Regions from separate parts of the Homo sapiens genome. Here all the other regions are linked to region 1. The links are contacts of gene promoters, found by promoter capture Hi-C in blood cells and fetal thymus (Javierre and others, 2016). All regions are on one chromosome and are shown on one strand. The core of a region is centred on a gene start or on the middle of the fragment in contact, and the rest is flanking DNA. Distances in the headings are between cores, read along the strand shown.

Region 1 (4,209 bases), core at 781-3,280:
GTGCTTGCTCCATATTAGAGATGAGAGGATTGAAGCAGAGAGGACAAAAGCCATCGGAAACAGTTTTGGAGCTCACATGGGGCAATGTCATCAGTGGGGGGAACTGGTGGTGGGGCCCTGGTCTGCAATCTGTGGTCTTGTGCTCTTTCCCTCAAACCATATCATTTTCCCAATGACAGTGCACAAAAAAATAGCACCACTGTGACTAATGACTTTTTTCCAATTGCAGAGATTACTTCTAGATTTTTGCTCATTTTCCCATGGCATTGTGTGTATGGGGCTTGCAATCCCAGCACAACACTATCTGCTTCCCAAGAGCATCACCTAGCCCAGCCTGTTGAGGGCCTCAATTGTTGAGGGCCTCCATTGTCCTGGGACTCCGCATACCACATGCTCCTGGATCTGGCACTACCTTAGTCCCTGCCTCCTAGAAGCCATCTTCGGTGTCCAGTAATGCTTCACCTTCCCTCCTCTTTATTTTTTATTTGTAGAGATGGAGTCTGTGTTGCCCAAGCTGGTCCCAGACTCCTGGCCTCAAACCATCCTCCTGCCTTGACCTCCCAAAGTGCTGGGATTACAAGTGTAAGCCACCACACCTGGCATCGTTTCCCTTCTCTTGCTTTTTTTGTTTTTGTTTGTTTGTAGGTACGGTCTTACTCTATCACACCCAGGCTGGAGTACAGTGGCACAATTACAGCTCACTGCAGCCTCAACCTCCAGGGCTCAAGCAATCCTCCCAACTCACCTTCCTGAGCACCTGGGACTACAGGCACACACCACCAAGCCTGGCTAATTTTCATTTTTGTAGAGGCAGGGTCTCACTGTTGCCCTGACTAGTCTCTAACTGCTGGGATCAAGCAATCCTCCCACCTCAGCATCCCAAACTGCTGAGATTACAGATGTGAGCCACCATGCCTGGTATCTTCTCCCGTCTCTTGAGTGTCATTTCAGGTGTTGACATGATAGTATCACACACATTAAGTAAGACCCGTGGAAGCCCCTGTGCACCAGAGCACAGCAGCCTGTGAGTGAAAGCCATGGGATGCCAGGTGACCGTGCCTACATCTATGAACTGGCCTGCCCCTTATGTGCAGACAGCTCCTTGCCTTGTTCCTTAGGTAGCTGGAGACTAGGTGTGGGCAACCACTACAGCATCCTGTTGGATTCTCTAGAAGACATCTTTTTCTTTTCTTTTTTTTATTCATCCAACCCAAAATGCCTTTGTTTTTCCAGTCGTAGTAGGGACGGGGCCTCGCTATGTTGCCCAGGCTGGCCTCCAACTCCTGCCCTCAAGCGATCCTCCCTCCCAATGTGTTGGGATTACAGGCTCGAGCTACGGTGCCTGGTCAGACACACCATCAGCTCTCGGGGCTCCAGGGTCCCCCTCCCACGGCCCACCCTCCCTCCTGTCTTCGGTAAAAGTGGGACATGGCGATGGGAGTAAATCACCCCAGTGACTACTGGGCGGAGGGTGTAGGGGGTGGGGAAGCACACCTAGTGGGTGTAATTGACAGGGGTTGAAGGTGGGTGGGTAGGGGTGCAGGTGGGCGGGGGAGTTGCAGGTGGGCGGGGGAGGGGCGCAAGTCCGCGGGCCCCGCCCCCAACCCCGGCCCCGCCCACCCGCCGAGGACCGCTATGCCCCGCGCCCGCTTCTCCCCCGCGCCCCTCCCCACGCCCCGCGGCCCGCCGCCCGCCCGGGTACCTCCTGTGGCAGCAGGGGCAGCGCGTGCCCCGCCTGCGTGGCCGTCGGCGTGGCCGGCTCCAGAAAGTCGTCTTCGGCGTCAGAGCTGGACATGGCACCGTCCTGACGACGGCTGTCTGGCTCCCGCCCCGTGACTACCACCATCCCTCTGGCTCTGGGCAGTGGGCGCGGCTTCGGGCGGGCGGAGGCGGCGGCCCCGGGCACTCCCTACCGCCGAGCAGCGCCTGGCATGACGCGGCCGGCTGCGGGCTGGCCGGAGGGGGGCGAGAGGCAGTGCGCAGGCGGGAGGGCGGTGGCTCCCTCAACGCCGACCCGCTCGCGCCCAGCTGGGGCCTGACCCGACCGCCTCCCGCTACTGGCCGACGCCGCGCTGGTTCCGCCCTGATTGGCAGGAAGCTCGCCCAGTCGAAGAGCAGGCAGCGCCAGCGGCCGGCGCCTGAGTGGTCCCTGGGTTGGGGGGGGGGGGGGGGGGCGGCCTGCGAGCCTGCCGTGCACTGATTGGTCCTCTGGCCAGCGGGCGCGCCCTCTCCGAGAGACCCGGCGGTGGTGCGCCGCTACGCTCTCATAACTGGGCGTCGGAGTCTGCCGTGAAGAGGGTTCTCACCCGCGTCAGGGTAGACGCCTTATCCCTTCACACAGGGGGTCACGACTTACTCGTGTGTCTGGCCCCAGAGCAGCGGGTCCTTGTCTCCTCAATGGAAGGCCTGAGCAGCCTTTCCTGGAGGATGTGGCGGGAGGAGGGCTGAGGTGGCTGCGGACACGCCACCGCGGCTGGCCCCGCCCCGAGCCGCAGGGCACCGCCCGGGTGTCCAGTTCTTCCTCACTCGCTCGCGCAGAAATCCGAACGAGAAAACCCAAAATAGGAGCGCTTGAGTTCAATGAATAATGACAGTGACTCCCCACCGTGACCGTTTTTCCACCGGGACACACAGATGGAGACAGGCCCTTCCCCAAGATGCTCCCGGCTCCCTGGGAGGCGGAGTCCAGCCCTAGAGGCTCTATCAGCGCAGGGAGTCTCCTGGGGGTCAAGGTTCTTAGCCCGTTCAAGCCATTTTCTCCTTTCTTTAAAAGACAAAGTCTCACTCTGTTACCCAGGCTGAAGTGCAGTGGCGCAATCATAGCTCATTGCAACCCCTGGGCTCAAGCAATCCTCCCGCCCCAGCCTCCCGAGTAGCTGGGACCACAGACGCGCACCACCACACTCAGCTGATTTTTTAAAATTTTGGCCGGGCGCAGTGGCTCACGCCTGTAATCCTGGCTCTTTGGTAAGCGATGCGGGTGGATCACCTGAGGTCAGGAAGTTGAGACCAGCCTGGCCAACATGGTGAAACCTCATCTCTACTAAAAATACAAAATTAGCCAGGCATGGTGGCACACCTGCAATCCCAGCTACTAGGGAGGCTGAGGCAGGAGAATCGCTTGAACCCAGGAGATGGAGATTGCAGTGAGGCGAGATCACGGCCACTATACTCCAACCTGGGCAACAAGAGCGAAACTCCGTCTCAAAAAAGAAAAAAAAATTTTTTTTTTTTTTTTTTTTTAAGAAATGGGGTCTTGTCATGTTGCCCAGGCTGGTCTCAAACTCCTTGCCTCAAGCTGTCCTCCCTCGTCAGCCTCCCAAAGTGCTGGGATCGCAGGCGTGTGCAACCATGCTTCTCCTTTTCAAACCGTTTTCACACCCAGTTCCTCATCTCATTCTCACAGTGTAGTGACAGAAAAGAAAACTGAGTCGTAGATTAGACAGCTCCAGGATGGCAAAGATGAGCTGGTGGCATAGCACTTCCTCTGTTAGACCATCGCACTCCCAGCTGCAGGAGTGTCCTAGGTCTGTGTTTTCTCCAACTTCAGTTGCATCAAAATCCCTGGAGGGAGACCTTGTTTAAACACAGATGAAAAGGAATGAAATCACGTCATCTGCAGCAACGTGGATGGACGTCATTATGTTAAGTGAAATAAGCCAGGCACAGAAAGACATAAATATTGCATGTTCTTATCTGTGGCAGCTAAAACAAATCGATCTCATAAATTTAGAGAGTAGAAAGAAACCAGAGGCTGGGAACGGTTGGGTGAGAAATGAAGAGATTTAGGTTAATGAAGGACATACAGTTAGATAAAAAGGTTTATGTTCTATGGTTCAAAAGCAGAGTAGTGACTATAATTAACAACAATGGATTGTATATTTCAAAATAGCTGGAAGACACTTTGGGAAGCCAAGGCGGGAGGATACCTTGAGCCCAGGAGGTCAAGACCAGCCTGGACAACGTAGTTAGACCCTGCCTCTACAAAAAATAAAATATATATATAGCTGAGTGTGGTGGCTCACATCTGTAGTCCCAGCTACTAGGAGGGTAAAGCAAGGAGGATCATGCGAGCCAGGGAGGTCGAAGCTGCAGTGAGCTGTGATTGCACCACTGCATTCCAGTGCCTAGGTGACAGAGACTCTGTTTCAACAACAACAATAACAAAAATCTAGAAGAGAGGACTTGAATTGTTTCCAACACATGAGT
Region 2 (4,209 bases), core at 1,170-3,669, 890 kb after region 1:
CATGGTGAAAACCCGTCTCTACTAAAAATACAAAAATTAGCTGGACATGGCGGCGGGCGCCTGTAGTCCCAGCTACTCAGGAGGCTGAGGCAGGAGAATCGCTTGAACCCAGGAGGTGGAGGTTGCAATGAGCTGAGATCACACCACTGCACTCCATCCTGGCAACAGAGTGAGACTTGGTCTCAAACAAACAAACAAACAAACAAAAACCTTGTCTCCAAATATAGTCACATTCTGAGGTATTGGGGGTTAAGACTTCAAGATATGGACTTTGGGGGAACACAGTTCATTCAGCCCATAGCAAAGGTGTCCCTTCCTTTTTTCTTTAATTCATTATAGAATGAGTTGTATTTTCCTGGACCGATCATTTGCAAGGGTCTTCTCTGAAGGAAAGACAAGAGGGACCAGGGTAGTTTTACAAGCTTCTCAATGCAAACGAAGGTTTTCAGCTGCCACAGTCAGACTGTGTCATTCAATGTGGCTCTTGGTAGTTTTTGTGTAGTTCTGCCTCCTTTGCTGTGTACTATTTTTTGTTTTGTTTTATTTTTGTTATTTTTTCTTTGCACTGTTCTAAACTGGCCCTGTAGGGCTTCGCCTCCCAGTCCAGTACTCCCTAGCATCACCACCAATCACTGCACATAGGGCACACAGCCCCTGTGTTTCTGGTGAGCTCTTCATCTACCTTTTTTTTTTTTTTGAGACAGTCTCTCTGTTGCCCAGGCTGAAGTGCAGTGGCACGATCTCAGCTCACTGCAACCTCCACCTCCAGGGTTCAAGGGATTCTTGTGCCTCAGCCTCCCGAGTAGCTGGGATTACAGTCGTGAGCCAGCATGTCTAGCCTTTTTTGGTATTTTTTTGCAGAGATGGGGTTTTGCTATGCCACCCAGGCTGGTCTCAAATTCCTGGACTCAAGCAATCCACCTGCCTTGGCCTCCCAAAGTGCTGGGATTACAGGCGCGACTGGCTGTCTCTCTCTCTCTCTCTCTCTCTCTCTCTCTCTCTCTCTCTCTCAAGTGATAGAGTCTTAGGGCCAGGCACAGTGGCTCACGCCTGTAATACCAGCACTTTGGGAGGCCAAGATGGGCAGATGATGAAGTCAGGAGTTCAAGACCAGCCTGACCAGCATGATGAAACCCCGTCTCTACTACAAATACAAAAATTAGCTGGGCTTGGTGGTGTGCACCTGTAATCCCAGCTACTCAGGAGGCTGAGGCAGGAAAATTGCTTGAACCTGGGAGGCTGAGGTTGCAGTAAGCCGAGATCGTGCCACTGCGCTCCAGTCTGGGCCACAGAGTAAGACTCTATCTCAAAAAAAAAAAAAAAGATTCTTGTTATGATGACCAGGCTCGTCTCAAATTCCTAGGCTCAAGCAATCCTCTTGCCTTAGCCTCCCAAAGTGGTTGGATTATAGGCATGAGCTACCGTGCTGGCCAAAATAGAATGTTAGTGACACACCCTACATTGAATTTACTTGGAAGGCTGATTCTTTTCCCATGCCCTCCCTAGGAGAGTGAGCTGGGTGTTAGGACCTTAACTCTGCCCATAAGATGCTCAGGCCAGGAGAGATGCCCTTCACCCCTTGGATTACAAGGGTTTCAACTCCCTTTCTGCTTGTTTGAGCCTTGCCCTCAGTTCTTTTTATCCCTGCTCTGCTGTGCTTGTTTCAAACAACACATTTTTGGACTGTGGCATGAACGGCTCATCTTCAGAGAGTCTGTTTTAGTTGTGTTTCCTAGGATCTGCATCTGCCTCTTCGCGTGTAACTTTGGTAGCCCTTGTGCAGGTCTTGGAGTCTCCAGTGACTTTTTGTCTTCTAGTTTTGCTGAATATGGGATTTCTGCCTCATTCCCCCCCACTATGTCTCCCTATCACTTTGCATAATTTCTAGGAGGAGGAAGGGGAAGATTCGGTCAAATATTGCTGCAGTTCTTATACTATAATCATATTGCTTTGTAATATAAATTTCCCCCACTTTTTCCATTATAAAGATAGCTGTAGGCCAGATGTGGTGGCTCATGTCTATAATCCCAGCGCTTGAACCCGGAAGGTGGAGATTGCAGTGAGTTGAGATTGCACCACTGCACTCCAGCCTGGACGGCGACAGAGCCACGCACTGTCTCAAAAACATAAAAATAAATAAATAAATGAATGTTTCATCTTTTATATAGCTGTATAGACATAGATGTATAACCATATACCATACCTGGATATAGACACACGTAGAGATTTATTTGTTCAAAAATGGGGGCTCACATTATATATATGTTCTGCAACTTCCTTTATTCATGTGACATATCATGGGCATATTTCCATGGTGTGACTTATTTTGAATGCTAATGTTTATATTAAATCACATTTCAAACTGTGTTCTTTTAAGACATTCATGCTATTTTAATGTATTGGTATTATTTGTTTATTTATTTATTTTGAGATGGAATCTTTCTCCGTCACCAGGCTGGAGTGCAGTAGCGCGATCTCGGCTCACTGCAACCTCCACCTCCTGGGTTCAAGCGATTCCCCTGCCTCAGCCTCCCAAGTAGCTGGGACTACAGGTGTGGACCACCATGCCCAGCTACTTTTTTGTATTTTAGTAGAGATGGGGTTTCACCATGTTGGCCAGGATGGTCTCGATCTCCTGACATCGTGATCTGCCTGCCCCGGCCTCCCAAAGTGCTGGGATTACAGGTGTGAACCACCGTGCCCAGGCAGCAATGTATTGCTATTTAACATATTGATATGAAATATTAAATTTGTTAGCAAATATTTTATACACACAGATACAAAAAGCATCTGTACACCTACTATCCTACTTAAAGGAACATTATTACTATAATGCCATTGATTAACTCTACATACCTTTTCTCAATCTCATTTCCTTTCTTACTTTCAGAAGTAACTACTCTCCTGCAGTTTATGTTGTAAGTTATCATTTATGACATTAAATGATATTCTCTTTTTAAAGTTTCCAATGGCTATTGGAGTATCACAGTAATCACAGTAACTGAGAATGTTCACAGTATTGCTGTAAAAATTCTTATATATGTGGCTCCTCCAATCATACAACTTTCTTTTTTTTTTTTTTGAGACAGAGTTTCACTCTTGTTGCCCAGGCTGGAGTGCAATGGCGTGATCCCAGGTCACCGCAACCTCTGCCTCCCGGGTTCAAGCGATTCTCCTGCCTCAGCTTCCCCAGTAGCTGGGATTACAGGCATGCATCAATACGCCTGGCTAATTTTGTATTTTTAGTAGAGACGGGGTTTCTCCATGTTGGTCAGGCTGGTCTTGAACTCCCGGCCTCAGGTGATCCGCCTGCCTCAGCCTCCCAAAGTGCTGGGATTACATGCATGAGCCACTGCGTGCCTGGCCTCTTTTTTTTTTTTTTTTTTTTTTTTTAGACAGAGTCTCACTCTGCCACCCAGGCTGGAGTGCAGTGGCGTGATCTTAGTGCAGCCTTAACCTCCAGGCTCAAGCCATCCTCCCAACTCAGCCAAGTAGCTGGGACTTGAGGTGTGTGCCACCACGTCCCACTAATGTTGTTTATTTTTTGTAGCGATTAGGTCTCAATATGTTGCCCAGGGTGGTCTTGAAATCCTGGGCTCAAGCGATCCTCCCACCTAGGCCTCCCAAAGTGGTGGGATTAGAAGCATGATCCACCACACCCAGCCTACTCATGAAAGTTTCTCCTGAGTGTCTCCCTCAGGTGGAATTGCTGGGTTGTATAAATTGCGTGTGTTTAGTGTTACTAACACCATATTGTTTTCCGGAGTGTTCGTTCCAATTTACTATACTTTAGAAGGCCATTATCAGTGAATAACTTTTTAAAAAGGAGTACATGATTCTAACACAATTAGCCATTAGAAAATTTGTGGCTGGGCACGGTGGCTCACTCCTGTCATCCCAGCACTTTGGGAGACTGAGGTGAGCAGATCACCTGAGGCCAGGGGTTTGAGACCAGCCCGTCCTACCTGGTGAAACCCCCGTCTCTACTAAAAACACAAAAATTAGCTGGGCATGGTGGTGCCTGCCTGTAATCCCAGTTACTTGGGAGATTGAGGCAGGAGAATCACTTGAACCCAGGAGGCAGAGGTTGCAGTCAGCCGAGATCACGCCACTGCACTCCAGCCTGGGCAACACAGAGAGACTCCGTCTAAAAAAAAAAAAAAAAGAAAAAGAAAAATTAAAAGAAAATTTGTTAGCTTAAAAAATGTG
Region 3 (4,209 bases), core at 458-2,957, 600 kb after region 1:
GACTGCTTGAGGCTATGAGTTAGAGATCAGCCTGGGAAACCTAGCAAGACCCCCAGCTCTTAAAAAAATAAATTAGCTGGGCATGGTAGCAAACACCTACTATGGTCCTAGCTACTTGGAAGGCAGAGGGGAGGTTTGCTTCAGCCCAGGAGTTTGAGGTTACAGTGATGACCACTGTACTCTAGCCTGGGAGACAGCCTTTGGGACCCTGTCCCCTAAAAAAAGCTCCCAGAGTGGAAGACAGCAAAAAGAAAGAAACCGCCTCCCTTCCACATCCCCCCAAAAGAAAAGAAGGTAGTAGAATAAACAGAGTTGGCCATATTCTTTCCTCTCTAAAGGCTCAGTCTCAAGTGGTTGCAGCTTAGAACAGGAAGGAAATGGTTGAATGGTTTTTGGCCAAGCCTTTGGCTTTTAGGAGCCTCCTTGTCCAGTTTGGACTTTGCTAGGCGTTTGGGTGTTTTATCCATTGGGGAAACATTGCATTCATTGATCTCATGCCACTATTTCTGAAAGGAACAGCAGATGAGAGGGGTCGCATTGTATTTAGTGATGGTGTGTGAGCCTGCATTTTCTTCACTTCTGTGGTAGAATCTCTAAAACAGGAATGAGACTGAGATTCCCCCCTGCCTCCAGCACTCTAATGCATGCATGTTTTATCCTTGTGGGGAAAGTTTGCTTCTAAAAATCCATAGCATTTTTTCCTCCCCTTTTTTTGGTAAACTCTGTCTTATCACTTGCTTCAAAATTTTTCTTTTCCAGAAAGAAATTATTATGTTAGATTTTTTTTTTTTTTTTTTTTTTGAGATTGAGTCTCACTCTGTCGCCCAGGCTGGAGTGCAGTGGCATGATCTCGCCTCACTGCAAGCTCCACCTCCCGGGCTCATGCCATTCTTCTGCCTCAGCCTCCCGGGTAGCTGGGACTACAGGCGCCCGCCACCACGCCCGGCTAATTTTTTTTGTATTTTTAGTAGAGATGGGGTTTCACCGTGTTAGCCAGGATGGTGTCGATCTCCTGACCTCGTGATCCGCCTGCCTTGGCCTCCCAAAGTGCTGGGATTAAAGGTGTGCACCACTGCACCTGGCCTATGTTAGATTTTTATACTAGAGAAGCAGAATTCTTTTTTAACAAAATATTTGTTTTAAGAAAATTTGCTTTCAAATAGTATATTTTTGAGATCAGAGGAGATTAGTGATGTGTATATTCATAGGAAATGTTTGAAATTGTTTTTTTTTTTTTGAGATGGAGTCTTGCTCTGTTGCCCAGGCTGGAGTGCAGTGGCGTGATCTCAGCAACCTGCAACCTCTGCCTCCCAGGTTCACGCCATTCTCTTGCCTCAGCCTCAAGAGTAGCTGGGACTACAGGTGCCTGCCACCACGCCTGGCTAATTTTTTGTATTTTTAGTAGAGATGAGGTTTCACCATTTTAGCCAGGATGGTCTTGATCTCCTGACCTCATGATCCGCCCGCCTCAGCCTCCCAAAGTGCTGGGATTACAGGCATGAGGCACCGCACCTGGCCATATTTGAAATATTTTAGGTAAATTAATGAATTTGGATTATTTGGCTTATATAAAAGAGCATTTTTTTAATGTCATATGCCTCTGGGACTCATATTTGCTCAAATCCAAGAATTGGAAGCTGCGTAATGGGCGGGTGAAAGGAAGTACTACAGTTTCCTGTTTATCCTTCAAAACCACTGACCTTAGATAGATATATTTCTCAAATTTATTCATAAACTTCTTTTGTGTATCTTCTCCTGGGTGTTTCATTTACTAACTGATCTGAAAGAGCAGCGTAAAGAAAGTGGAAAGAATAAACACAGCTCTGGGCAACAGAACTTGAACACTATCACCTATGAAGTAAGGCTGGGCTTCTGCCAGGCCTACCTAAAGTACCATTGAGGGAGGGGGGTTTATTCTCCCAACGACTGGCTGCTGAAATCAAGATCGCCTTTTATCTGATTTGAATACTTTTACTGTAACCTGATTTTTATTCTGTTTATAAAAGTGGGAGGAGTTTGGTCAAGTGTAGTGTTTAGCCAGCTACAAAGTTAGAAGGAATAGTCTAAAAGATTGCTCTCACTTCTCCTTGAAAGGGAATCACTGCTCACTGCAGCCTCAACCTCCCAGGCTCAAGTGGTGCTCCGAGCTCAGCTTCCCAAGTAGCTGGGAATATGGGTATGCACTGCCATGCCTGGCTAATTTTTTTGTTGTTGTCCAGGGTGGTCTTGAATCCCTGGGCTCAAGGGATCTTCTCACCGCATCTTTCCAAAGTGCTGGGGACTTAGACACTTAAGGCTATTGTTTATTTTTCAAGTTTCAGATTCTTCCCAAAATATGTAATTATAATTCCTCTCAAATTATATCTGTATTCTTCTTCAAAAGCCACAAATTCTGTGTAATCATGAGAAAATATCAGACCATTGCAAATCAATTTTAAAAAAACACCTTTTATTTTGAAATCATTTTTCTTTTTTTTTTTTGGAGATGGAGTCTCCCTCTTGTTGCCCAGGCTGGAGTGCAATAGCACGATCTTGGCTCACCACAACCTCCGCCTACCAGGTTTAAGTGATTGTCCCGCCTCAGACTCCTGAGTAGCTGGGATTACAGGCATGCGCCACCTCGCCTGACTAATTTTGTATTTTTAGTAGAGATGGGGTTTCTCCATGTTAGTCAGGCTGGTATCGAACTCCCAACCTCAGGTGATCCGCCGATCTTGGGCTCCCAAAGTGCTCGAATTATAGGTGTGAGCCACTGCGCCCAGCCATTTTTCTCTTACATAAAAGTTGTAGAGACAGGTGCTGGGAGTTCTTGTGTACCCTTCCCATAGTTTTCTCCGATGTTAACATCTTACATAACCATGGTCTATACCATGAAAAACCAAGAAATTAACATTGGTACATACTATTAAACTAAGCTAAAATTTTATTTGAATACCTTGTTTTCCCACTGCTGTTTTCTGAGTTCCAGGATTCAGTTCAGGATACCATTTTTTTTTTTTTTTTTTTTTTTTTTTTTTTGAGAGGGAGTCTCTCTCGCTCTGTCGCCCAGGCTGGAGTGCAGTGTCATGATCTCGGCTCACTGCAAGCTCCGCCTCCCAGGTTCACGCCATTCTCCTGCCTCAGCCTCCCGATAGTAGCTGGGACTACAGGCGCCCGCCACCACACCTGGCTAATTTTTTGTATTTTTAGTAGAGACGGGGTTTCACCGTGTTAGCCAGGATGGCCTCAATCTCCTGACCTTGTGATCCACCTGCCTCGGCCTCCCAAAGTGCTGGGATTACAGGTGTGAGCCACCGCACCTGGCTCAGGATACCATTTTATATTTAGTTAACATGTTCCCATAATGTCATTTGTTCTGTGTCCTTACTCTTCCTTTGTCTTCCTTGACACTTGTGAAGGGCTGGTCAAGTATTTTGTAGAACGTCCCTTGATTTGTGATTGTCTGACGTTTTCTTATGATTACACAGAACCTGTGGCTTTTGAGGAAGAGTACCACAGAGGTGATCTCCCCTTCTCGTGTCCTGATATCTCAGGGTACATGATATCGATGTTTCTTTCTTTTTTTTTTTTTTTTTTGAGATGGAGTCTCTCTCTGTTTCCCAGGCTGGAGTGCAGTGGCACAGTTTTGGCTCACTGCAACCTTCACCTCCTGGATTCATTCCATTCTCCTGCCTCAGCCTCCCGAGTGGCTGGGACTACAGGTGCCGGCCACCATGCCCGGCTAATTTTTTGTATTTTTTTAGTAGAGACGGGGTTTCACCGTGTTAGCCAGGATGGTCTCAATCTCCTGACCTCGTGATCCGCCCGCCTCGGCATCCCAAAGTGGTGGGATTACAGGTGTGAGCCACCGTGCCCGGCCAATGTCGGTGTTTCTTATGGCTACTATTGTTAACTTTGGTCATTTGGTTAAGATAGTATCTGCCTGGATTGTCCACTGTAAAGCTACTGTTTCTTCATTTCCATATTATGTTAGAAAGGATTCACCAAGTTCAGCCCATATTCAAGGGGAAGAGGGAGATTAAGCTTCACCTCTTGAAGGGAGGGATATCAAAGAATTTGTGGATATATGTTAAAACCACCACAGTAATTAAAAAATATTTTTTGGGAGATGCTTTGTGGCTAGGAAAACAGCCTACCCTTTGCTTATGCTTTTAACCACCAATTTTAGCATTCATTGGTGGATCTTTCCTGAAGTAATTATAACTATGG
Region 4 (4,209 bases), core at 795-3,294, 580 kb after region 1:
TGGGCGCGATGGCTCACGCCTGTAATCCCAGCACTTTAGGAGGCCAAGGTGGGCGGATCACAAGGTCAGGAGTTTGAGACCAGCCTGAGCAACATGGTGAAACCCCTGTCTCTACTAAAAATACAAAAATTAGCTGGGCTTGGTGGTGGGCGCCTGTAATCCCAGCCAGTCGGGAGACTGAGGCAGGAGAATCGCTTCAACCCCAAGAGGTGGAGGTTGTGGCGAGCCAAGATCACACCACTGCACTCCAGCCTGGGTGACAGAGAGAGACTCCGTCTCAAAAAAAAGAAATTAGCAGACATGTTTTAGAACCACTGTGTGTGTATGATCACATTTCATTCTTTTAGTGTTACCAAAGCAGTAGAGTTCAGCCTAGCTCCAGCTGTTGGCCGCACAGAAAGCCAATCATTGAGACAGTGATTATTGCCAAGGAAGATTTTAATTGGGTGCTGCAGCTGAGGAGATGGGAGATCAGTCTCAAATCCATCTCCCTGACTACTAAAATTAGGGGTTTATACAGCAGGGAAGAAATGCAACTATGTGTGGGAATACAGGAACTCAGGAGGGGTAAGGAAGCAATCATGATGAATGAGGGGTCCGGAGTCTCATTGTCAGGATGCCATGACCTGGTGAGTTTCAGTTCTTTGATAAACTTTGAGAGGCCTGGGGATCCTTTCCTGAGGAAGGAACTCAGGTAAAATAAAATGTAAGTTTCAAGCTTTATGACCGAAAGTGTCAATTTCTTTTTGTTTATTTATTTCTTTTTTCTTTTCTTTTTTTTTCTTTTTTTGGAGACAGAGTTTCGCTCTGTCACCCAGGCTGGAGTGCAGTGGTGTGATCTCAACTCACTGCAGCCTCTGTTTCCCAGGTTCAAGGAATTTTCGTACCTCAGCTTCCTGTGTAGCTGGGATTACAGACTCCTACCCCCACGCCCAGCTAATGTTTGTATTTTTGGTAGACACGGGATGTCACCATGTTGGCCAGGCTGGTCTTGAACTCCTGACCTCAGGTGACCTGCCCGCCCTGGCCTCCCACAGTGCTGGGATTACACGTGTGAGCCACCCACCTGGCCAGGACTTGTTTTCTTAATCCCTGTGCTACAGAAATTATACTAGACTAAAATATAAAGGGTTTTTGTTTTGTTTTGTTTTTGTTTTGTTTTGAGACATAGTGTTGCTCTGTCACCCAGGCTGGAGTGCAGAAGCACAGTCTCGGGTCACTGCAACCTCCACCTCCCAGGTTCAAGTGATTCTCCTGCCTCAGCCTCCCAAGTAGCTGGGATTACAGGAAACCACCACCACACCTGACTATTTTTTGTATTTTTAGCAGAGATGGGGTTTCACCATGTTGGCCAGGTTGGTCTCAAACTCCTGACCTCTGGTGATCTGCTCGCCCTGGGCTCCCAAAGTGCTGGGATTACAGGTGTGAGCCACTGTGTCCGGCCGGGATTTATTAATAAGCACTTTTTTTTTTTTTGAGATGGAGGTTCACTCTTGTTGCCCAAGCTGGAATGCAGTGGCACAATTTCAGCTCACTGCAACCTCCACCTTCTGGGTTCAAGTGATTCTCCTGCCTCAGCCTCCCGAGTAGCTGGGATTATAGGCATAAGCCACCATGCCCTGCTAATTTTCTGTATTTTTAGTAAAACGGGGGTTTCACCATGTTAGCAAGGCTGGTGTCGAACTCCTGACCTCAGGTGATCCGCCCACTTTGGCCTCCCAAAGTGCTGTGATTACAGGCGTGAGCCACTGTAATTTTTTTTTTTTTTTTTTTTTTTTTTGAGATGGAGTCTTGCTCTGTCACCCAGGCTGGAGTGCAGTGGCATGATCTCAGCTCACTGCAGCCTCCACCTCCCAGGTTCAAGTGATTCTTCTGCCTCAGCCTCCTGAGTAGCTGGGATTACAGGCAAGTGCCACCACGCCCAGCTAATTTTTGCATTTTCAGTAGAGACAAGGTTTCACTATGTTGTTCAGGTTTGTCTCAAACTCCTGACCTCAGGTGATCCACCTGGCTCGGCCTCCCAAAATGCTCGGGCACTACGCCTGGCCCCTTTTTTTTTTTTTTTTTTTTTTTTTTGTATTTTAGTAGAGATGGGGTTTCACTGTGTTGCTCAGGCTGGTCTCGAACTCCTGAGCTTAGGCAATCTGCCTGCCTAGGCCTCCCATAGTGGTAGGATTACAGGCGTGAGCCATGGCGCCCGGCCTTTTCTTTTTCTTTTTTTTAAAGAGACAGTATCTCCCTCTGTCACCCAGACTGGAGTGCAGTGTTGCTCACTGTAACCTCAAACCTTAAGGCTCAGGTGGTTCTTCCGCCTCAGCCTACTGAATAGCTGGGACTACAGGCACATGCCACCCTGCCTGGCTAATTTTTTGTAGAGACATGGTCTCACTGTGTTGCACCATCTGGTCTTGAATTCCTGGGCTTAGGCAATCCTCCCACTTTGGCCTTCCAAAGTGCTGGGGTGACAGGCATAGGCATGGCATCTGGCCAATAAGCATTCTTATGCAGTGTTTACTAAGCGCCAAGCACTATCTCAAGCACTTTTCTGGGGACTGTGTATGTTTATGGGAAAAAGCCTACAGCAGAGGCCCCAGGAGACAGGCCTGCCTGGAGGGCTGGGTTGGGAGTGGAGAGCAGGCCCCCTCAGGACCATGGAGCCTCCAGGACACAGTCCTTCCTCCCAAGGAAGTTAAGGCAGAGTTAAGGTTCCTGCTTGGTTGGAAGGTCCAAGGGGCAGTCCTGAGTGGGACACTGTGACTGTCACTCTGATTGTCCCCCTACAAGGCCCCATGGACTCCAGCAGCCAGAGAATGAAGATAATAATAAATTAAAGCATCTCAAGGCATCTGCAGAAATCGTGTCAGGCAGGAGGCCATGCCTCAGGGCGCAGGAATAACAGCAGCCTGGCCTGCCGCAGCAAGATAGCAGCCCCTACTGCAGAGGCTGGTGGCAGCCACCATTGGGGGCACAGACTCTGGGGGTGCTCGTGCATGCGTGTGTGTGTGTGTGTGTGTGTGTGCATATCATACTTTGAGACACCTGGATCTATCTAGGAGGTATCTGAGAGGTACTCAGCCTCCTGCAGAAAAGGTGGGGACGGACCTGGAGAAGCAGCATTTTGTAACCTTGGACCCTGAGTGAGCAGGAGACAGACTGCACAGAACAACAGATATATACGGGAATGTACTGATTTTCTCTTACTGCAGTAACAAACTGCTGCACAAAACCCCACAAATTTATTGTCTTAAAATTTTATAGGTTAGAAGAAGGGTCCCCAAACCTTGAACCACAAACCAGTACTAGTCTGTGGCTTGCTACGAACCATGTCGCACAGCAAGAGGTGAGTGGTAGTCGAGCGAGCAAAGCTTCTTCTGTATTTACAGCAGCTCCCCATTGCTCACACTCCCACATGAGCTTTGCCTCCTGTCAGATCAGTGGCAGCATTAGATTCTCATAGGAGCGTAAACCCTATTGTGAACAGCGCATGCACGGGATCTAGGTTGTGGGCTCTTTATGAGAATCTAATGTCTGATGATCTGTCACTATCTCCCATCACCCCCAGATGGGGCTGTCTAGTTGCAGGAAAACAAGCTCAGGGCTCCCACTGATTCTACATGATGGTGAGTTGTATAATTATTTCATTATCTATTACAATGTAATCATAATAGAAATAAAGTGCACGTTTAATGTAATGTGCTTAAACCATCCTGAAACCTCCCTGCCTCCTAGTCAGTGGAAAAACTGTCTTCCACAAAACAAGTTCCTGGTGCCAAAAAGGTTGGGGACCACTGGATTAGGAGTCGATATGGTTTAGATCTGTGTCCCCACACAAATCTCATGTCGAATTGTAATCTCCAGTGCTGGAGATGGGGCCTGGTGGGAGGTCATTGGATCATGGGGGCGAAGTTCTCATGAATGGTATAGCACCATCCCTTTGGTGCTGTTCTTGCAATAATGAGTGAGTTTTCACGACACCTAGCTGTTTAAAAGTGTGTAGCTTCGGCTGGGCATGGTGGCTGATGCCTGTAATCCCAGCACTTTGGGAGGCCGGGGTGGGCAGATCACCTGAGGCCAGGAGTTGGAGACCAGCCTGGCCAACATGGTAAAACCCTGTCTCTACTAAATATACAAAAATTAGCCGGGTGTGCTTGTGCGTGCCTGTAATCCCAGCTACTCGGGAGGCTGAGACAGGAGAGCCACTTGAACCCA
Region 5 (4,209 bases), core at 445-2,944, 560 kb after region 1:
CGTGAGCCTTTATCTTGACAAAGCATCCTTGGCATTAAAGACTCATAGGAGGGCAGGGCGAAGTGGCTCACGCCTGTAATCCCAGCACTTTGGGAGGCTGAGGTGAACGGATCACCTGAGGTCAGGAGATTGAGACCAGCCTGGCCAACATGGTGAAACTAAGTCTCTACTAAAAACACAAAAATTAGAGTGCGGCCTGTCCTGTCCTTGCCATGAGGCTGCGGCAGGCACCAGAGTCCAGAAAGGTGTTCATTCAGCGAGACTACAGCAGTGGCACAGGCTGCCAGTTCCAGACCATGTTCTCCATGGAGCTGGAGAACCAGATTGATAGGCAGCAGTTTGAAGAAATAGTTCAAACTCTAAATAACCTTTATGCAGAAGCAGAGAAGCTTGGTGGCCAATCATATCTCGAAGGTTGTTTGGCTTGTTTAACAGCATATACCATCTTCCTATGCTTGGAAACTCATTACCAGAAGCTTCTGAAGAAAGTCTCCAAATGCATTCAAGAGCAGAATGAGAAGATCTATGTTCCACAAGGCCTTCTCCTGACAGACTCCATTGAGTAAGGACTGCGAGTTATTGAAATTACCATTTATGAAGGCAGAGGCATGAGCCATGGAAGATAAACCATAGAATTAAAGATCCTACTTCTAGCTGGGCCCCTCATGTATCCATTGGCCGACTGCAGAGTGTCTCTACCTCCTCTCCAGAGTATCATTCCTATCTGCTGCCAGAGCCACACTGCCATTTACTCCAAGGACTTTGTAAAATTCCACACCTGGAAAGACCTTTAGTTGCTCAGTATCCACTTTGTGTCTCCAAATTGTGTAGGACTCTGTAATCTTTTGACTAGTTTCTGAGAAAACACAATGAAGCATTTCACTTTTTTTATTGAAGGCCATTTAATAAAACACAGCTGGTCAGCCCAGTGCAAACCTTATTATCTGCCACCAGTACGTACCATTGGTTCTCCTCATTCCTTGGGCCAGCTTCTCAGGTAGCTTTAGACCTCAACAAGTTGTATCTTTGCCAGTGTTCCATCTTGTTCCCCTAAATTAATAAAATGCTTTTCTCCAGGATTTTGGCAAAGGTTGGTGTGGCTGTGGTTTTGCTAATGCACCTCCTAGATTTCAAAGATTTACCAGTTTTACCATGACTCATATATTAAGATCTGTTTCTACTATTCAGTTCCTCAAACTGAAGCTCATTGAAAAAATAATGTATAATGTTATTTGTTTTATTATAGCAATTATTCCTCATTAAAGCAGTATTTAATGCAATTTCCAGTTATTTCTTTGGAGAATGTTATGTCCTTGTTGCATTACCTTAAAGGTTGTGAAGATGTGATGTGTGTTGCTTGTTCATCACAAAAATCAGTAAGCACAATAAAGTGGATGCCAAACCATCAAACACATAGATGTTCCTGCTGGGTCCCTGGATATGTAATAAGCAGGTATAAAAATATTTTAATTATAGTTTTCTTACAAATATAACTTACGAGAAAAAAATTTGATTGGAATAATACTGTATATTACTAATTTTTAACTATCCCTACCCAAACCTTATGACTCACAGAATTTTCTCATATACAGTATTCAGTGCACAGAAAACTTATGACTGGCTCAAGTACAGTAAGTTACTTCTAAGTAAAACTCTCAAGTCTGAGTCCATATTTGTAGCTCTGCTTTTGGTTGTACGTTTCTAGGATCAGGGCCGCTTATGCCTTTTCGTTCATCCTTGGGGTTTGAGAGCACTGTATGAGGGAGAGAGTTTAAAAATACATTAGGAGACAGAAACCATTAAAAGTTTAACTGTCAGAGATATTGTAGGTGCTAATACTGGATTTCGTCTTTCAGATTTAATTTCTTTTATGGGTCTGTTAATCATTCAATAAATCCCATAAGTATGTGTAATATTTCAATTGTGTAAAACTCGTTTGTCACTTTAAAGCCTGTAACAGTGTGTTTGTGTTTTCAACCCATTGCAATAACTTTGCTGAAATATTAACACATTAATAAAACTTTTCTTAAAAAAAAAATAAAATAAAAATACAAAAATTAGCCGGGCGTTGTGGTGCATGCCTGTAATCCCAGCTACTCGAGAGGCTAAGGCAGGATAATCACTTGAACCCGGGAGGCAGAGGTTGCAGTGAGCCAAGATCACACCACTGCATTCCAGCCCGGGTGATTAAAAAAAAAAAAGGCCGGGCACGGTGGCTCCTGCCTGTAATCCCAGCACTTTGGGAGGCTGAGGTAGGCAGATCACTAGGTCAGGAGATCAAGGCCACCCTGGCTAACATGGTGAAACCCAGTCTCTACTAAAAATACAAAAAATTAGCTGGGCGCCGTGGCGGGCGCCTGTAGTTCCAGCTACTCGGGAGGCTGAGGCAGGAGAATGGCATGAACCCAGAAGGCAGAAGTTGCAGTGAGCCGAGATCGTGCCACTGCACTCCAGCCTGGGCGACAGAGCGAGACTCTGTCTCAAAAAAAAAAAAAAAAAAAAAGGAAGACATGGAAAAAGCCAATAAAACAACATATGAACAAAATGGAAATATCAGTAAAGAGATAGAAAACCTGCAAAAGAAACTAAGAACAAATTTTGCAGCTAAAAAGTATAATAACTAAAATGACAAATTGGCAGAATAAATGATATAGTTTGGATGTCTGTCCCCCCAAACCTCATATTTAAATGTAATCCCGATGTTGGAGGTGGGCCCTGGTGGGAGGTGTTTTGGTCATGGGGCCAGATCCCTTACGAATGGCTTGGTGCTCTCCTTGCAATAGTGAGTGAGTTCTCGTGGGATCTGGTTGTTGAAAAGTGTGTGACACCTCCCTCCTCTCTCTCTTGCTCCTGCTCTTGCTGTGTGATGGGCTGGCTCTCCATTACCTTCCACCATGATGTAAGTAAGCTTCCTGAGGCCTCACCAGAAGCAGATGCCAGCACCATGCTTCCCACAAAGCCTGCAGAACCATGAGCCTATGAAACCTCTTTTCTTGCTGAATTACGCAGTCTTGGTAGTCCTTTATAGCAACACAAAGAATGGCCTAAAACAAAAAAGAATGAGCAAATTTGAAGAAAGGACAATGGAAATTATTGAGTCTGAGGAATAGAAAGAAAAAAGATTGAGGAAAAGTGAACAGAGCCTAAGAGACCTGCGGGAAACCATCATGTGCACCAACCTATGTATTGTGAAAGTTCCAAAGGAGAAGGGGGGTGGGTGCTGAGAGAATATTTAAAGAAATAATAGCTGAAAACTTCCCAAATTTGACAAAAGACATGAATATAAAAAATCCAAGAAGTTCAATGAACTCCAAGTAAGATGAAATCAGAGACCCATAGTGAGACACATTATAATGAAAGTTTTGAAAGCCAAGAAGAGAACCTTGAAAAGAGCATGAGAGAAGCAACTCGACATGCAAGGAATCCTCAATAAGATGAAAATCAGCAGATTTCTCATCAGAAACTATAGAGATCAAAAAACTAATATAGTGAAGTGGGGAGCTGTCAACTAAGTATCTCATATCCAGCAAAACTATCCCTCAAAAATGAGAGAGTGGCCAGGTGTGGTGGTTCATGCCTGTAATCCCAGCACTTTGGGAGGCTGAGGCGGGCAAATCACGAGGTCAGGAGTTTGAGACCAGCCTGACCAACATGGTGAAATCCTGTGTCTATTAAAAATACAAAAATTAGCCGGGCGTGGTGGCAAAGAGAATTGCTTGAACCTGGGAGGTGGAGGTTGCAGTGAGCCGAGATTGTGCCACTGCACTCCAGCCTGCGTGACAGAGTGAGAGTCCGTCTCAAAAAAAAAAAAATGTGAGGGAGATAGTAAGACATTCAAGATAAACAAAAGCTGAGGGAGTTTGGGCTGGGCATGGTGGCTCACGCCTGTAATCCTAGCACTTTGGTAGGCTGAGGCGGGCATATCACCTGAGGTCAGGAGTTCGAGACCAGCCTGATCAACATGGAGAAACCCCGTCTCTACTAAAAATACAAAATTAGCCAAGCGTGGTGGCGCATGCTTGTAATCCCAGCCACTCGGGAGGCTGAGGCAGGAGAATTGCTTGAACCCAGGAGGCGGAGGTTGTGGTGAGCCAAGATCGCGCCATTGTACTCCAGCCTGGGCAACTGAGCGAAAATCTGTCTCTAAAAAAAAAAAAAAAAAAAAAAGCTGGCCAGGCGCAATGGCTCATGCCTGTAATCCCAGCACTT
Region 6 (4,209 bases), core at 514-3,013, 520 kb after region 1:
AACCGTTGGGCTCCTCGGGCGAAAAGGGACGCGCCCGAGAAGACTTACACTTCCATGACGTCCCGCCTCGTCGCCCCTAGCTGCCAGCAGACAAAGAACCTCACACTTCACAGCTGTCTCCGCCGCCACCAACAGCGCCAAGGTGCCAGCTCCGCGCGCCAAGGTGCTCGCCGGGATCGCCGCGCTGCATGCCGGGAGCTTGGCGGACCCGGAACCTCGCGCTGCGCGTTCCCCTTTTTCGGGGGGCAGGGTGGGGGAGTGTCCCTGCATCCTTCCACCAGGCCGATTTAAGACTGCTAAGCGTTTGCGGACAGGATTATCTTGTGTTTTCTTTTCTTTTTTTCTTTAACCTTTTTTTTTTTTTGAGACGGAGTCTCGCTCTGTCGCCCAGGCTGGATCTCGGCTTACTGCAACCTCCGCCTCCTGGGTTCAAGCGATTCTCCTTCTGCCTCAGCCTCCCAAGTAGCTGGGACTACAGGCGCTTGCCACCAAGCCCGGCTAATTTTTTGTGTTTTTAGTAGAGACGGGGTTTCACCGTGTTAGCCAGGATGGTTTCAATCTCCTGACCTCGTGATCCGCCCGCCTCGGCCTCCCAAAGTCCTGGGATTACAGGCGTGAGGCACCGTGCCCAGCCTCTTTTTTTCTTTTTTGAGACAGAGTCTCGCTCTGTCACCCAGGCTGGAGTGCAGTGGCACGATCTCGGCTCACTGCAATCTCTGCCTCCCAGGTTCAAGCAATTCCCTGCCTCAGCCTCCCGAGTAGCTGGGATTACAGGCGCCCGCCATAACGCCTAGCTAATTTGTGTATTTTTTAGTAGAGACGGGGTTTCATCATCTTGGCCAGGCTAGTCTTGAACTCCTGACCTCGTGATCCACCCGCTTCGGCCTCCCAAAGTGTTGGGATTACAGGCGTGAGCCACCTCGCCGGGCTCTGTCTGTTTTCGTGGTCTAGGTTTTAACAAAGTATTAATCAGCTGAAGTTGTGAGACGTGATCGGGTTAGTGGGCCTTTGCATGTTAAAATCCCACCTCTCAGAGAGTAGTGAGGCTGGTGGCATCTGGGCTGCCAGAAACATTGCAGTTTATTTATTTATTTTTTAAGAGACAGGGTCTTGCTCTGTCGCCCAGGCTGGAATGCAGTGGTGCAATCAGAGCTCACTGCAGCCTTGAACTCCTGGGCTCAAGCAATCCTCCCACCCCAGCCTGCCAGAGTAGCTGGGACCACAGGTGCGCTCCGCTACACCTGGCTAATTTTCTTTTTTTCTTTTTCTTTTTCTTTTTTTTTTTTTTTGAGATCAGTCTCACTCTGTTGCCCAGGCTGGAGTGCAGTGTCGTGATCTCGGCTCATTGCAACCTCTGCCTCCTGGATTCAAGCAGTTCCCTGCCTCAGCCTCCCCAGTAGCTAGGATTACAGGTGCCCGCCATAATGCCCAGCTAATTTTTGTATTTTTTTAGTAGAGACGGGGTTTCACCATCTTGGCCAAGCTGGTCTTGAACTCCTGACCTTGTGATCCACCCTCATCAGCCTCCCAAAGTGTTGGGATTACAGGCGTGAGCCACTGCACCCAGCCACCTGGCTAATTTTCTAAAATAAAATTCTTTATTGTCCAAAGAGTCAGCTACAAAATTTTTTAATTTTTTTGTAGAGATGGGGGTCTCACTGTGTTGCCCAGGCTGGTCTTGAACTCCTCGCCTCAAGTGATCCTCCCACCTCCAACTCCCAAAGTGCTGGGATTACAGGTGTGAACCACCACAATAGCCTCTGTTGCCTACTTTGTAAATAATAAGGGTGTTAAATAATCCTTATAAAGTTCCTGGCACTTTATTAATTACTGTGGCAATACAACCATGACTCTCTATGAGGTACATTGCATTATTATTGACATTTTATAATTGAAGAAACTGAGGCAGACTTGGAGAGATTATGATTTACCAAAAGTCACTCATCTAGGAAGTTGTCCAGTGGGTATTGAACCCCAGCCAATCTGAACATATACAACAGATGCATTAACTAGAGACTGATGAGTGGATGAATAAAATGTGCTACATTTGTGCAATGGAAAACTACTTAAAAAGGAGGCTGGCCGGGCACGGTGGCTCACGCCTGTAATCCCAGCACTTTGGGAGGCCGAGGCGGGCAGATCACGATGTCAGGAGATCGAGACCATCCTGGCTAACAGGGTGAAACCCCGTCTCTACTAAAAATACAAAAAAAATTAGCCGGGCGTGGTGGTGGGCGCCTGTAGTCCCAGCTACTAGGGAGGCTGAGGCAGGAGAATGGCGTGAACCCAGAAGGCAGAGCTTGCAGTGAGCCAAGATCGTGCCACTGCACTCCAGCCTGGAAGACAGGGCAAGACTCTGTCTCAAAAATATAAAAATAAAAAGGAGGCCAGGCTTGATCTCAGCACTTTGGGGAGCAGAGGCAGGAGGATTTCTTGAGACAAGGAGTTCCAGAGCAGCCTGGGCAACATAGCTAGACCCCCTAACTACGAAAAGTTAGCCAGGTGTGGTGGTGAGCACCTCTAGTCCCAGCTACTGGGGAGGCTGAGGTAGGAGAATCGCTTGAGCCAGAAGGTAGAGGCTGCAGGGAACTATGATCACACCACTGCACTCCAGCCTACAGAGTGAGAGACCTTGTTGCAAAAAATATATATAGACAGACTGATAGATAAATGCTGCAAGATGGATAACCTCCCAAAACATGATGCTATTAATAAGTGAAAGAAGCCAGACACAAAATAATATATATTGCCTGGCCAGGTGGCTCACGCCTGTAATCCCAGCACTTTGGGTGGCTGAGGTGGGTGGATCATCTGAGATCAGGAGTTCAAGACCAGCCTGGCTAACATGGGGAAACCCTGTCTCTACCGAAAATACAAAAATCGCCAGGCGTGGTGGCTCACGCCTGTAATCCCAGCACTTTAGGAGACTGAGGCAGGCAGATCATGAGGTCAGTAGTTCGAGACCAGCCTAGCCAACATGGTGAAACCCCGTCTCTACTAAAAATACAAAAAGTAGCTGGGTGTGGTGGGGGGCACCTGTAATCCCAGCTACTCGGGAGACTGAGGCAGGAAAATTGCTTGAACCCAGGAGGCGGAGGTTGCAGTGAGCCGAGATCACGCCACTGCACTCCAGCCTGGGTGACAGAATGAGACTCCTTCTAGAAAAAAAAAAAAAAGAATACATATGGTATGATTCACTTTATATAGAATGTCCAAGAAGAGGCCAATCTATGGATACAGACAGAAGGCTAGGTTGGGGGCAAGGATGGGAAGTGATTGCTAATAAGTAGGGAGTTTCTCTTTGGGAAACAGAAATTGTCTAAAATTATTATAGATGGTGGTGGTGGTTGCACAACCCTGTGAATATACTGAAGACACTGAGTTGTATACTTTAAATGGCATATTGTACAGCATATTAATCCTATATTAATAAAGCTGTTAAACATTTTTTACTCTGCTGAGTGTGGTGGTCCACACCTGTAATCCCAGCACTTTGGAAGATGAAGGCAGGTGGATCGCTTGAGCCCAGTTTGAGACCAGCATGGGCAACATGGTGAAACCTCATCTTTACCAAAAAAATAGAAATTAACCAGCTTGATGGCTCGTGCCTGTAATCGTAGCTACTCAGGAGGCTGAGGCAGGAGCATCGTCTGAATCTGGGAGGCGGAGGTTGCAGATCACGCCACTGCACTCCAGCCTGGGTGACAGAGCAAGACTCCATCGCAAAATAACGACAACAAAAAAGTCATAAAATGCCACCCAGACCCAGCTGGCCTAGTTAGTGTGGAGAATTCCCTGTACCTTCGCTGAGGAGATTGGGCCCCACAAAGAAATGCTAAAGATGCCCCTTGTGTTATTCACTCAACAAGTATGTAGCCATGGCCCATCGGGGGCTGATGATACAAATGTGACTAACACACACCCTCTGCACTGGCTAGCTGACAGCCTAGTTGAGGAACCAGCTCTGGACATAAATAACCACAATGCATTGTGTTTCGACGCGATGGGCAGGGGAGGGAATGACTAATGAGGTGGAGAGGCGTCCCAAAGCCACGGGCCTTTGAAGTGGGTGAGGGAAAAGCACACGAGGCCGAGGGATTGGGTATGGGCTTCAGTGAAAAACAGCAGTGCCTCTGACAGCCCCCATGATAAAATGGCTCAGGTGTGACTTAGAGTAGGGAGTTAGCTGGGTGTTCGAATGATACCCGG

Evidence for each region. Contacts are between HindIII fragments. The CHiCAGO score rates a contact against its expected background, and 5 or more counts as called.
Region 2: a fragment that was not itself captured here is called in contact with the fragment with the promoter of KCTD7 in region 1 in 1 of 17 cell types (total CD4 T cells); the score reaches 6.2 in total CD4 T cells.
Region 3: a fragment that was not itself captured here is called in contact with the fragment with the promoter of KCTD7 in region 1 in 10 of 17 cell types (M0 macrophages, endothelial precursors, M2 macrophages and 7 more); the score reaches 17.7 in M0 macrophages.
Region 4: a contact is called between a fragment that was not itself captured here and the fragment with the promoter of KCTD7 in region 1, in 2 of 17 cell types (endothelial precursors and M1 macrophages). The highest score is 6.0, in endothelial precursors.
Region 5: a contact is called between a fragment that was not itself captured here and the fragment with the promoter of KCTD7 in region 1, in 4 of 17 cell types (neutrophils, endothelial precursors, M1 macrophages and 1 more). The highest score is 7.3, in neutrophils.
Region 6: a contact is called between a fragment that was not itself captured here and the fragment with the promoter of KCTD7 in region 1, in 1 of 17 cell types (neutrophils). The highest score is 6.1, in neutrophils.

The regions. Positions count from the first base shown.
Region 1 is chr7:66,626,702-66,630,910 of GRCh38, reverse strand. It overlaps KCTD7 (potassium channel tetramerization domain containing 7), which reads right to left and starts at 2,030. Exons shown (of 4, transcript NM_153033.5): 1 at 1,703-2,030. The coding sequence starts at 1,846. RefSeq lists silencers at 1,670-2,239, 3,250-3,449. The HindIII fragment of the contact is 8,113 bases long and covers 1-4,209 here.
Region 2 is chr7:65,736,034-65,740,242 of GRCh38, reverse strand. The region is part of intron 2 of LINC03006 (long intergenic non-protein coding RNA 3006); the gene reads left to right. Among named protein-coding and RNA genes, the nearest start is that of SNORA22, 17 kb to the left of the region's middle. The HindIII fragment of the contact is 3,989 bases long and covers 425-4,209 here.
Region 3 is chr7:66,026,208-66,030,416 of GRCh38, reverse strand. All of the region lies in intron 3 of LOC105375336 (a long non-coding RNA gene), which reads left to right. It also overlaps the pseudogene LOC100419772. Among named protein-coding and RNA genes, the nearest start is that of GUSB, 46 kb to the right of the region's middle. The HindIII fragment of the contact is 4,637 bases long and covers 1-4,025 here.
Region 4 is chr7:66,049,437-66,053,645 of GRCh38, reverse strand. No RefSeq gene overlaps it. Among named protein-coding and RNA genes, the nearest start is that of ASL, 24 kb to the left of the region's middle. RefSeq lists a silencer at 1,647-1,825. The HindIII fragment of the contact is 2,647 bases long and covers 721-3,367 here.
Region 5 is chr7:66,067,322-66,071,530 of GRCh38, reverse strand. It overlaps the pseudogene LOC644667. Among named protein-coding and RNA genes, the nearest start is that of ASL, 6.4 kb to the left of the region's middle. The HindIII fragment of the contact is 2,432 bases long and covers 479-2,910 here.
Region 6 is chr7:66,110,810-66,115,018 of GRCh38, reverse strand. CRCP (CGRP receptor component) reads right to left here and starts at 172. Exons shown (of 6, transcript NM_014478.5): 1 at 49-172. The coding sequence starts at 56. RefSeq lists an enhancer at 330-459 and a silencer at 1,106-1,296. The HindIII fragment of the contact is 6,002 bases long and covers 1-4,209 here.